Linked DNA regions of Homo sapiens: region 1 is linked to region 2. Evidence: promoter capture Hi-C in human tissues and cell types (Jung and others, 2019). All regions are on one chromosome and are shown on one strand. Each heading gives the region's core, a stretch centred on a gene start or on the middle of the fragment in contact. The rest is flanking DNA. Distances are from core to core; before and after follow the strand shown.

Region 1 (6,831 bases), core at 3,429-5,928, 360 kb after region 2:
TTCAGCCACCTATGTGCTATATTTTCCCATCTGGTCCCTAAAGACATCATGAATAACAGTCAAATGCATTTGTCAGATGAGGCCTGAACTTGATGTCCAAAACTCTGGGTTTTCATACCAGCTCTGATATTTACTAACTGTATGACCTAGGTGAGTTATTTATCTTCTCAAGTCTCAGCTTACTAATCGATAAAAAGGGGCTAAGAGACCTTTGTGGGTAGACTAACTAAGGTAATGCTTATGAAAATGCCTGGAAATATTAACCGCAATCTACCATTGACCTGGGCACTCCATCACAGTGGGAGAGGCCGCCCTTGGAGATCCTGTGAACCAAGCCAAACTTGGTGGCACTGGAGCTGAGTCTTGAGTGGTGCCATGCATCATTCTGGGGGGCAGGGTGTTGCAGGTGGAGGGAACAGCAAGTGCAAAGGCCCTGAGGTGGGAACAAGCTTACTGTATTTCAAGGACAAAAAGAAGGCTGGTGTAGTTTGAGTGGTGTGAACAATTAAGAAAGTGGACAATACGGTCACAGAGGTCATCAGGTTCAGATCCTGTAGGGCTTCAGAGGCCATATAAAGAGTTCTGATACTGATCTAAGTGTGATGCTAAGCTACTTGAGGGTTTTATTTTGTTTTGTTTGAGATGGAGTCTTGCTCCATTGCCCAGGCTGGAGTGCAATGGCTCGATCTCAGCTCACTGAAACCTCTGCCTCCCGGGTTCAAGTGATTCTCCTGCCTCACCCTCCCAAGTAGCTGGGACTACAGGCATGCGCCACCATGCCTGGCTAATTTTTGTATTTTTAGTAGAGGCAGAGTTTCACCATGTTGAGCAGGCTGGTCTTGAACTCCTGACCTCAGGTGATCCTCCCTCCTAAACCTCCCAAAATGCTGGGATTACAGGCGTGGGCCACCACACCTGGCCTATTTAAGGGTTTTAAGCAGGGGAGTGATGCAACCTGGTTTATGTTTCAGAAAGACAGCCCTGGCCACTGTGTGCAGAGTGGACTGCAGGGGAAAGGGCAGAAGCAGGAAGATAATTTGCAGTCTTGTGGAGGTTTTGGAATAAGACTGTGGTGGGCATGAACACAGGGGATCCAGTTCGTTCAATGCCAAGAGTTTAAATCTGAAAAGAAATAACCCTCTGCCTGCCTGGCCTTGAGCCCAATTTAGGATCCCTGGTGACCTGGCCTTGGTCATTCCACATAGACCATTATCTAAAGATACAAAGGAATGAGTGGACCATCAGCATTGCTAAGGCACAAAGCGGAAGGCAGGCCTCTCTAAGAGGTGGACTCCAAGGCAAGCTTGGGGTAGGCTTTCTGGACTCTCTCCTTTTTGCAGAGAAGTCTGCCTCTGCAAAGAGAGGTCCCTCCTGAGCCTTAGGTCACTTGGAAAGCCTTTAGTGGCCTTTGCTCTTGTCATGCAGCTGAATTTTCAGGGCTCTGACTCCCCGTGATCAGGGTTAGGCAGTCCAGGACCAAAGCTTTACTTTAGGGACTAGATGGGTCTATGGCCACCTACTCACAGTCTTAGGGTCAGGGCTTTAAAACCTGCTTTGACACAGTGAGGTGCTGTCTGGGATGTCCCTTTGAATCCTGACTTTGCCACTTTCCTTAACCTCTCTCTGAGCCTTAGTTTTTTTCATCAATAAAATGGGTTCCCAATGCCTGCTTAGTGGACTGTGGTAGGGACCACATGGCAGAATCACTTAGCAGTGCCTGCCTGTGCTCAGGACCTGTAAATATTCTTTTTATTATTAAACAGTACCATCAGGCAAGCTGTAAAGAGGCTCTATCCCTTTCCTTCCCCTCCTTAAATAAGAGGGTGACTGATATGCCTTCTACCCTGTACAGTCTCCACATCAGCAGCACCCCATTATCTCCCTTGGCCCTCACCACACCCAGATGAGGAAGCAGAGCTCAGAGGGATCCTGGCTTTGCCCAGCAACACAGCTAGGAAGTGGCAGAGCTGGGATGTGAATGTGGTTTTCCGAGTCGGAGTCCCTGGTCTTCTCCTCTGCCCAGGCCACTGACTTTCAAAGTGGGCTTTTCTTGTTTGTTTGTTTTTGAGACGGAGTCTCACTCTGTCGCCCAGGCTGGAGTGTGGTGACACAATCTCGGCTCACTGCAACCTCCACCTCCTGGGTCCAAGCAATTCTCCTGCCTCAGCCTCCCGAGTAACTAGGATTACAGGCATATGCCACCACCCCCAGCTAATTTTTGTATTTTTCGTAGAGATGGGGTTTCACCATGTTGGCCAGGCTGGTCTCAAATTCCTGAGCTCAGGAGATCCGCCCACCTCGGCCTCCCAAAGTGCTGGGATTACAGTCATGAGCCACTGCGCCCAGCCCAAAGTGTGCTTTTCTATCCCCAGGATTTGAGGGTGGCAGCTCCAGGATCCACCGTGAATATGTGTGTAGCCCCTGCCTCCCTTTCCTCCTTCAAGCAGAGGTGTTCATTATTTCTGTGTAATACATTAGACATGAGCCTGAGATTTCATTTGAAGAAAGGAGTTGGCTTTTCTAATAAACCCTGAGTTCTAGGCCAGGTCCCCTGGTGGCTGATAGATCTATTTGCTTTTCAGTGTTAGTGTCCAGGTGCACTCTACAGTTGTGGCTGAGCTGTTGAAAGTGTGCACTCCAAAGTCAAGTTTAAAAATGGGCCCACCACCTGCCCAGGTGGGGGATCTTGGCCAAGCACTTAGGCTCACAAGCCTACTGTGAGGAGTAAATAAGCTAATTCGTGTAAAGTGCCTGGCCTGCAGAAAAAGCTCAATAATGGCTCTTCTTATAAGAAGCCCTAAGTAAGAAACCAATGCTTTATCTGGAGGAAGGAACCATTGACAGTATCATTTCAGACATCGTGATGCCATTTGGCAGGAGCTATCGATGTTTTGGAGTGAGCTGGGGGACAAGTCCCAGGGCCCCCTCCATGATGCTTGGCTTCCTTTAGGGTGGGGACTGCTCAGGCCCCCCACCCTCTACAGTCAGACCCGGGGCTAGAAGGCTGGGGGTGGGGACAAGGTGGTGGAGAGTGTTTTGTTGGCAGCTTGGCAGCCAGGCTCATTGGTAAAGGGTCGTTCCCCGTTCCCCGAGGAGCTGGGATGATTGAACAGATTATCTGAAACAATGGCTAATTAGGAACTAAGCTTTTTGGCAGGAAGTCTTTCATTCTAAGCTTGGTAAAGTTTCATACCCTGACCCTGGTCTCTGGGCGAGATAGGGAGGCTTCTCTGACCAGGCTTGAGAACAGGGAGGCCTTTAGAGCCTGGGCTTCCCTAACTCAGGGCCCCTGTCTCCACCTCTGCCCTGCCTTACCTGGAAGCCTTAACAAAACAGGCAGCCATTTGGGAGGTCACCAGGCCTACGAAACGAAAGGTGCCAAGGTCATGGCTCACTCCCTGTAATTTTAGGCAAGCCCCATCTCTCTCTGGGCCTGGTTTTCCTCACTGCAACGAGGAGGGGTGGCCACAGAATTCTGGACTCCTTCAGTGACAGAACCAGAGAGAACTTTCCAGACCCAAGATGGTGCAGGCCTGGCATGGCCAGATCCTCCGTGCTCCTCCGCCTCCCCAGGCCCTCCTTTCCTGTCCCCAGATCTCAGGCCACTCTTCCCAGCCACTGGGCGCCCCCACCTGGCTCCTATTCCCAGGGCCAGCCTTGGAAAGCACATTCCCTTTTTCCGTTTCTATTTGAGTCAGGTAGCTTTCTGGCCTCTAATTTTAATCCTAGTGAACATGATTCATGAGGGGCCAGGGCTGGGCTCTGCAGCGAGGCTTTTAGAATCCCCAATTAAGGAGCCATCAATAATATATGAAAAGTATTGAGGGATCTACGGCTGGGGAAGGGTGAGCAGCTTGTGAGGTAGACAGCAGTCTGTCAGCTCCAGCCTCCTATCCCACCGGCACAGCCCCTGGGGGCTTTGCAGCTGGGGGATGGCTCCGAAGCTCAATCCAGCTGTAATTTGTAAAAAGGCAAGAGCTGCCTAAATCCAGGGCCATGAAGATTGTTCAGGCTTGCAGAGAGCCACCCACGCATGCCTGAGGTAGGGGCTGTGGTGAGCACCAGGGATGCTCTGCCTTTCTCACTCCTGAGAGTCCCGGCCCTTCCTCGCCCACCATGGGTTGCCTCTGGGAGGGCTTCTCTGGCCTCCAAGAGCTCCGTTCTTTCATCGGTAAAGTGGAGATGATAATAATTTCATTGTCACGGGGTCATTGGAGGGGGTTAAATGAGATCGTGGATGTATGGAAGTGTTTCAAAGTTGAGAAGTCAGGATACCAAGCAGAAGGAGGAGGAGGAGGATCGGGTGGAAGGGAGAAACCTGAGCAGGGATGTCCACAGGCTTCTGGGTGAACCAGGGCTCCACTCAGCGCTGGGAGCCCCACTGGCTGGGGTACCCGTCAGCATCCATTTCCTAATGAGCTGTGTGACCGTGGTCAGAACAGCCCCCCTCCCACCTTCTCTGCCTTTGTTTTCTCATGTGTTAATTGAGAGGATTTGGTTTCTTCCAGCTCTAAAATCAGGTCCTAAGTCAATTTGATTTTTTTTTTGGTTGTTGTTTTGGCTTTTTGTTGTTGTTGTTTGTTTTTTTGTTTTTGAGACAGCGTCGTGCTCTGTCGCCCAGGCTGGAGTGCAGTGGCACAATCACGGCTCACTGCAGCCTCAATCTCCTGGGCTCAATTGACCCTTCTGCCTCAGCCTCCCAAGTAGCTGGGACTACAGACGTGTGCTTCCATGCCTGGCTAATTTTCTTATTTTTTGTGGAGATGGGATCTCACTATGTTGCCCAGGTTGGTCTCGAACTCCTAGGTTCAAGCGATCCTCCTGCCTCCCAAAGTGCTGCCCAACTTGTTAACATTTTTAAAAGGAAATCACAGGAGGGTTGAGGACTCTTTCTCTCCTCCTCCTCTCTCTCTCTCAATCTCTCTCTCTCTCTGTCTCTCCCTTCCTCTCTCTCTCTCCTCTCTCTCTCTCTGCGTAGGGGCTGCAAGGGGAGGGATAGAGGTTGGGCAGGGTGTTAGGTCAGGGACACTCACATTATGACCTGATCTGTGGGTCCACCCAGACCCACAGGGAGTGTTAACAAGGGAGCAGGCACAGTAATCCCAGAAGTTCAGAGACTGCGCTAGGGAGTAGAGAAACTACAGGGCTGAAAACTGTCAGACCTAGTCCCAGCCTCCATTCACAGCATAAGCCTCTTACTGAATAGTGACTATATCAACTCCTTATTGATTTGGAGCCAGCCAGCCTGGGTTTGAATCCCGTTCCTATCGCCTGCTAGCTGTGTGACCTTGGGCAAGTCTCTCAATCTCTCTGAGCCTTATCTTAATTTACTTATCTGTAAAGTGGGGATAATAGTTCTGCTTCGGAAGGTTGTTATGAAGCTTAAATGAATGACCTTATGGATAACACTTAGTGCGTGGCACGCAGTAGGGCTCTGTGAGGGTTACTATCAGTATTGGAGACCAGCTCTGCAACAGACACTCCCTGCATGTCCCTTCTGTCCTCCATCTGGAGGAAGGAATGATTTACTCTGTTTAAGCAACAGGGAGGTACACCCTCTCAGGGGGTGTCTCAGGCAGATCGTAAGCAACACAAGGCAGGCCTGGGAGGGTCCTGGGCCCTCCCTGGCCCTGGGCCCCAATGTTCTGCAGCCATGGGCATTTGTGGGGAGTTGACTCACGTGCCGGGAGATGTCCTTGTGCTGTCTGTTGCTGCCTCCCAGCTGGTGGGTGATGAGGAGGAAGAAGGGGCCCAGATTTTAGAAATCTGGAAGCAGGTTGAGCACAGTGGCTCATGCCTGTAATCCCAGCACTTTGTGAGGCCGACGGTTGGGGGTGGATTACCTGAGGTCAGGAGTTCGAGACCAGCCTGGTCAACATGGCCAAACCCCGCCTCTACTAAAAATACAAAACTTAGCCAGGCGTGGTGGCAGGCACGTGTAATCCCAGCTACTGGGGAGGCTGAGGCGGGAGAATCACTTGAACACAGGAGGCAGAGGTTGCAGTGAGCCAAGATCGCGCCACTGCACTCCAGCCTGGGCAACAAGAGCAAAACTCCTCTCAAAAAAAAAAGAAAAAAGAAAAGAAATCTGGAAGCAACAGAGAGGGCACCTCTTCCTGGGCTGCCTTTCTCTCCACATCCTAGTCCATGATCAGAGGCTGAGCGGGCGACCTCTCTCCTTTACTTTCACTACGTGGCTTCCATGCCCAAGGGCTCCTCCTGCCTTTTGTTTCCTTCCCTGCTGGTGGCCACAGTGAGTTTCTTCTCTAGGCCCCAGGTCTCTAAGAAAACCTTAGGTTTTCTGCGGCCTTTTTTCAACTGAGGCCTGGGGTACTAAGGACCCTGGTGTTGTGGGTAGCCCGTAGGGAGAGTAGGGCCTGGATCCTGATGGAGAAGTCGGTTTGTTCGAGCAAAGGGCCAGCCCTGCATTTGCCTCCAGTCTCACCCCGCATACAGAAGATATCTAGAGAGCAACCACTGAGAGCTAGGGCTTTCGGGAGACCCCTTTAGATGGAGGACGAAAACCCTCTCAGGTGTGGAAGATGAGCAGAAAGGAGTGGGAGCTGAAGAGGAAATGTTAGTGGTAGGACTGGGAGCATCTTAGAGATAAAGCTGAGTTTAAAGGCTTGGGAGATGAACACAGTTCCTGGATGGCTGAACCAGAGTTAGGGATGTAGAAAGAACCAGAGTGTGGGATCACTTACGTACAGAGCACGTTTTATGTCCCAGGCTCTCTTCTAAGTATATTATGTAAATCAAATCATTTAGGCCTCCAACAATCCCATAACATGTAGATAAATTGCCATTCCCATTTTACAGAGGAGGAAACTG
Region 2 (6,519 bases), core at 884-3,383:
AATGCAGCCCAACCCAGCGTCCTCCAAGGGCAAATAAACATAAACCACAAGCCCGAGTCACAAGTTTTGAAAGGCTGTCGTTTGTTAGGTTAAGCCGCTCAGATGATGACCCACCCTCCGCAGCTTTGATCTCAGGCTCTCCATTCCTTCTTTTCTGAAAGAACCCGCTCCAAGCCCCTCCCTAGGATAGGTTTTCATCCTCTCTGCGGAGACACCCAACTAATTTTCAAACCAGCGACAGATCTTATTTCACAACATTCATTCCTGACTCTCTCTCCCCTTAACACTAAAGAAAAAAAAAAGCCACCAGTAATAATATAGTTCCTATTCCTTAACCTTCCCTAGATCAGAAAGGAGTTAAGAACTGCAGCTCTAAAACTACCATACAGAAAACTAACTCCCTTATAAAATAAAACAAAAATTACAAAACCGGCATCAATTTCCACCTCTTCCCCCGCCCCCATCCTTTTACTGGCGGGGAAACTGGGTCAGACTTTAGAAAAATCTGGGCTACCGCCGGTTGCCCACAACCTCTTATTCATCGGGAAAGCCTGGAACTAACTGAATTCCACTTGAAGAATAAAATCATGCCAGAAACATTACAGGTTCAGCTGGCTGAAAATCCCCGGCTTTACTACGCTGGGAGGCTCTCCTGCGTCCCACCCCGGCTAGCATCGAGCCAGGCGGCCCAATGACCTTTACAAAAGGCTGGCGCGGGAGACTGGCCGAGGCCTCCGGACTGGGCCGGGCCGGGCCGAGTCACCTGGGCAGCTCCCTCCCGGGCCTGGCTCACCATCGAAGTCCGTGTAGACGGTGTCCTTGAGCAGCGCCCCCGACCCGAAGTCGATGAGCTTGAGCTCGCCGCGATTGAGGTCGATAAGGATGTTTTCGTCCTTGATGTCGCGGTGGAGCACCCCGCAGTTGTGGCAGTGCCGCACGGCCTCCAGCACCTGCCAGAAGAAGCTGCGGGCCAGCTCCTCTTGCAGGGCTCCCCTTTCCGTGATGAAGTCGAAGAGATCTTGCACCGGCTCGGGCCTCTCCAGGATCAGGACGAAACTGTCGGGCCTCTCGAACCAGTCCAGGAGCCTAATGACGCCGGAGAAACCCGAGCTCACCTTCTTCAGCAGGACCACTTCCATGGGCACTCGAGTGCCATTAGGCTGCAGGGGCGAGGGGGCCGCGTTAGGGCGGGAGTCGGGGGCGCCCCTCACCCCACCCACTCATCCTGGGGGTCGCTCCTGCAGGGCACTCACCAGCTCTCCCCAGTCGGAAATCCGGTCCTTCTCCACGTGTTTGATGGCCACCTGGAAGCCCAGGGTCTCCGTCAGGTTCCCTCGTCCGGGCTAAAGCACGCCCGTGCGCCCCCCGCCCGGCGCGCCCTCCCCACCGCGGGGCGCCCACTCACCGGCAAGTTGTCGGAGACGCGGATGCCTGAGTAGACCGAGCCGAAGCCGCCGCTGCCCAGTAGCGGGCCCACCTGGTACTGCGACTCCAGGGGCTCCTTCTCCTTGCCTAGGAAAGGGGGAAGCACGGGGACTCAGTGCCGGCCCGCGAGCCGCCAGCTCCCCACCCAGGAGATCCCGCCGCCGCCCCGCATCCCCGGGCCGGAGGCGGGGGGTGCTCTCACCGGGCGCCAGCTTGGTGGCGTGCAGGTCGTTGCAGGGCGCGGCGCGCAGGTGGGCAAGCGAGTTGATTTTGGACAAGAGCATCCCAACCTCCAGGATGTCGGCGCAGGGACGGTGCCCAGAGGAGCTGCCGCAGGAGCCGGAGCCGGGGCTGTGCCGAAGGCTATGCCTGGGGCTGTGGCTGTGGCTGTGGCTGCGGGTGGCGTTGCGGCTGTGGCTGCGGCTGGCGCGGAAGGCCGAGGGCGAGTCGGAGGACAACTGAGGGCGCTGCCGGGACTGGCGGCGGGAGGGCGCGCCAGCGGGGTCGGGCAGCGCTGAGAACGGCGGGGTGAGCGGCTCGTGGGGCTCGTGCGGCAGCGCCGCGGGGCAGGAGGCTAGTGGTTGCTGCTGCTGCTGCTGCTGCTGCTGCTGCCGGTCCCGCCGCCGCCGCTGCCACCGACTCCTCTCGGGCCTCCTCAGCCACCGCGGCCGCTGCAGCAGACGCCCGGCTCGCCCCGCAGCCAGGAGTAAAGGGGAGGAGCGCGCCGGCGGGGAGGGCGCGCGGGGAGGGCGCGGCGGGCGGGGACGGGGCGGGGCCTCTCCGGGAGGCCAAGGCGGGGAGCAGGGCTGCCGGGCCGGCCGAGGGAGGAGAGGGGGTGGGGAAGCGGCGGGACTGGGCGACTCCCCTCGGCCCCCGCCCCGCGCGCTCTGTGGCCGCGCCCCGGCCCCGCCCCTGCCAGCGCTACTCCAGCCAACCAGAGGCCGATTGATCTGCATAACTCGGCGCGCCCCGCCCCCGCCCCGCCCAGCTCTCGCGGTCAGAATGGTCTCTACGCCGCCACGACGTGGCGGGAAGGAAAAGGCGCCAAAATGGAGGGGGAGGGGCGCGGGGCGTGAGGGGAGGCGGGAGCTGGGTGTAGGGCCGCGAGGGAGGAAGGATGGGGAGGGGCGTATCGATTCAAACCCAAACAATAACAAAGCCATCAAAGGCCGCCCGAGGCCGGCTCTGCGGCTCTCCGTTTCGCTGAGGGTTTTGGGTCAAGGGCTCGAGCCGGAGCATAACAAGTTGCGCGGAGACGACGGGCGTTAGTGTGTCAGGCGGGGAGGCCGGCGCGCCGGGTGTCGGACTGTGTGTGGGGATGCCGACGAGGGTGGTCTTTCTGTGTGACTCAGACCCGAGACCTCCAAGTCGGCTGGGGCGGGCTGACGTCGCGCTGTAGGCTGGGGGCGGATTCTGGGGGTTTGTGTGTTGGGGGGCGCGTCGGGGGCGAAGGATCCGCAGGACATGAGTCACGGAGGGAGTGGAGGAGTCAGGCCTGGAACAGAACTGGAGGCGGGAGCCCCGCTCCTGCGGGAAAGGGATGCAGCCCTCAGTCGTTCCGGCCGGCTAAAAGCTCAGCCACGGGATTCCCATTTTAGAAATGCAAAAGCACCAGCGAATCCTGATTTCTGGGAAGGGATGTGTGTCAAAGGGCCGGGTAAAGAGGAAATCACGAAGCAAATGTTAGTGTTGTGATGCCAGATGCTGCCTCAGCCCCTTCTGTGAGGGCGGAAAATTCCTCATCTAAAACGAGGGTGGGAGGGTGCGCTTGATTTAACCAGTTTTCACGTTGTAGTCACCTTTTCATCAGCCTGTTATTACCAGGCAGGCAATACCAGCAATTATTGGCCAACCCCAAGTCTTGTCTCAAAGGAAACCCCCCACCCTCTGCCTCCCTTGGAAATAACCCGGAACACTGACCAATTCCACTTGCATCCTTTGTCCTTTTAAACTTCATGTAGAGTTGATAACGACGTGTGAAATGAGTAAATTAAAATACTATATAATCCATAAATTGAATTGTCAGTGGCCTAAGTAATTGAAAGCTAACTACATTCTATTTTAATTTTTTGAAGTGCCTGCCATTTAAAGGAAAAATCAGGATCCCTATAGCTGTCATTAGTGAATTTAAATGTTTCCTTTGAAAGTTTTCTACAGTGCTTGCTTTATAAAAGTGCCCAGATCCTCCACAACTTTTATGAATTTATCCTACAAAATATTACATATTTTCCTTTTGTTTGTGTACTGTGGCCGAACTCATTCATTTTTTATGACTAGGAGAAAACCCAAGGGAACAAGAATTACTCCCTTTTTGCAGATAGGAAAATGAAACATAAATAGGATGGCACAGGGTCATACAGCAGCTAAGAGAGGAGATGAAATGACCCAAATTCACCTCCTGAGTATTCAAAGCTTTCCGCTTATCAGGGTCTAAAACTGTCCTTGGCACCGAACAAGACATCATTAAACATATGTGATTCCCACTTCCATCCCTTCTACCCTCCCTTTCCTTTCTCAAACCCTCAAATGTAGTCAAACAGAACTATTCCCACTTGTTCCCACTCGCCTAGCACTTTACAGACCCTTTGCCTTTGCGGAAGCAATCAACCTGTCCTGGGAGAGCCCTCTCTACCTCTCCACTTTTATTCAAAGCCTTTCCACTCTTTAGGAAACAATTGTAGTTCTACCACAGATTGATGAACAAACTCAGAGCATTGGTTCACTGTCCACTAATCTGACAGTTGGGATTTGTTTTTTTAAATCCTTTTTGTTCATTTACTTTTCCATTATACTTTGTCTTCCTATTCCTTGAATGCCCTTTTTTTTTTTTTTTTTGAGACGGAATCTCGCCCTGTTACCCAGGCTAGAGTGCAATGGCACTATCTCGGCTCACTGCAACCTCCATCTCCCGGGTTCAAACAATTGGTTCTCCTGCCTCAGCCTCCCAAGTAGCTGGGATTACAAGCGCCCGCCACCATGCCCAGCTAATTTTTGTATTTTTAGTAGAGACGGAGTTTCACCATGTTGGCCAGGCTGGTCTCGAACTCCTGACCTTATGATCCGCCTGCCTCGGCCTCCCAAAGTGCTGGGATTACAGGTGTGAACCACCATGCCCAGCCTCCTTGGATTACAGGTGTGAGCCACCATGCCCAGCCTCCCTGAATGCATACTTTATCCAACATTTGTTGATAAAAGAGAAGACTATAATGGATTCTAACAAAAAGGCCATAATTAAAGTCAATTTATACCAAATTTAAATGAATTAAGTGGGCTTCGGGAACATAAAAGTTGGGAGCAAGGGCTTTAAACTAAGTTAGCCTGGTTTCAATTCCGGGATCTGGCAGCTACTAGTTAGGCATTGGTCAAGTTACTTAACCTTATTAAGCTTTAGACAGAATGGAGATAATAACAGCATCTACCTCATAGGGTTGTTGTAAGGAGCAAATAAAACTCTTGTTTGTAAAGCATATAACCCAGTACAGAGTAAACTTCTAATAAATATTAGCAATGATGATGGCAATAATGTTGATCGTGGTTATGATGATGATGTTTTTTAAAACGGCCTTTTTTTTTTTTTTTTTTTTTTTGAGACGGAGTCTCGCTCTGTCTCCCAGGCTGGAGTACAGTGGCGCAATCTTGGCTCACTGCAAGCTCTGCCTCCCAGGTTCACGCCATTCTCCTGCCTCAGCCTCCCGAGTAGCTGGGACTACAGGCGCCTGCCACCACGCCTGGCTAATTTTTTATATTTTTAGTAGAGACGGGGTTTCACCGTGTTAGCCATGGTGGTCCCGATCTCCTGACCTTGTGATCCACCTGCCTTGGCCTCCCAGAGTGCTGGGATTACAGGCGTGAGCCACCGCGCCCAGCCCAAACGGTCTTACACCTAGAAGGTACCAAAGGTAAACTACTGGATTAATAGTTCGATTTTTAACCATTTGGGGAGAGATGTGATTTAAAATAGTTGTTTCTAGTAGATCTTTTAGGCCTTTTAGAAAAAAAAATATGTATCAACTTCAACCTTTTTCACTTTTTCTAGGTCTTTGAAGGACTAAATATTTAATTAGAGCTAAAGTGATTAACATTTAATATATCTACTTTGTATAGTGGGGGCTTCACAGCTGGAAGTTACAAAACATGGACCTTGCTTGGCAAACAGCTTTGATTTACTTAAAACTGCTTTAAAAGATAATTAGTAAACATTCAGATGTGTTGTGGGTCAAAAGTTACTCCTCGAGAGTAGGGAACTTGATGTTTTGATTTATCGAAATATAGTCTTAATAAAATTAGCACTATTTGTGCTATCTCAAAGAATCTAACAAAGAATCAGAAAAATCACCCTAATAATTAAATGACAAGTGCTTTTGGAAGGATAAAAGGCCACAATTATGCTAACAGTTCTCTGGGAAGAGGAGCATTTATTAATATTAATTTGAACAATATCCAAATTAATCCTTAGGTGGTTTTCATATTCTGCCTGATATGGGTTTAATCAAGTCATTGTCAAAGGAATGACTTCATCCAGGGACTATATGCTTATGCAAAAAAAAAAAACAAAAAAACAATGACTTCAGCAAGTTCTGTAGTCACGAAATTTTTTTAAAAAACAAGTTTAGAAGAAAGTTTGAAAGTGATATCGGTACACAATTTTTTAAAGTGTCTGTAAGTCTAGTCAATGCATTTATATAACTAGGATTGTATAACTAAGACTCTATACGCTATTTATAATTAATCAGGTAGAGACGTATTGAATCTGCATCACTCATTTATCTCCTAAAAAAAATTTACTCAGTTTTTTATTTATTTTATTTAGTTTATTTGTTTTTGAGACAGAGTCCCACTCTCGCCCAGGCTGGAGTGCAGTGGCATGATCTCGGGTCACTGCAGCCTCCCCTTCCCGGGTTCAAGCGATTCTCCTGCCTCAGCCTCCCAAGTAGCTGGGATTACAGGCGTCCGCCACAACACCCGACTAATTTTTGTATTTTTAGTAGAGACGGGTTTCATCAGGTTGGCCAGGCTGGTCTCAAACTCCTGACCTCAAGTGATCCGGCGGCCTCAGCCTCCCAAAGTGCTGGGATTACAGGCATGAGCCACCGC

What was found. The method cuts DNA at HindIII sites, captures the fragments that hold promoters and counts their contacts. A contact is called where the count stands out against the background at its distance.
Region 1: a contact is called between a fragment that was not itself captured here and the fragment with the promoter of PIM1 in region 2, in 1 of the 25 tissues and cell types used here (IMR-90 fibroblasts).

Annotation. Positions count from the first base shown.
Region 1 is chr6:36,807,339-36,814,169 of GRCh38, reverse strand. All of the region lies in intron 3 of CPNE5 (copine 5), which reads left to right. Among named protein-coding and RNA genes, the nearest start is that of CPNE5, 29 kb to the left of the region's middle. RefSeq lists a silencer at 2,978-3,146. The HindIII fragment of the contact is 3,033 bases long and covers 3,162-6,194 here.
Region 2 is chr6:37,165,766-37,172,284 of GRCh38, reverse strand. PIM1 (Pim-1 proto-oncogene, serine/threonine kinase) reads right to left here and starts at 2,133. Exons shown (of 6, transcript NM_002648.4): 1 at 1,628-2,133; 2 at 1,406-1,512; 3 at 1,254-1,304; 4 at 794-1,160. The coding sequence starts at 1,709. RefSeq lists silencers at 16-115, 1,305-1,624, 1,885-2,664 and enhancers at 1-368, 2,290-2,888. The HindIII fragment of the contact is 6,628 bases long and covers 1-4,324 here.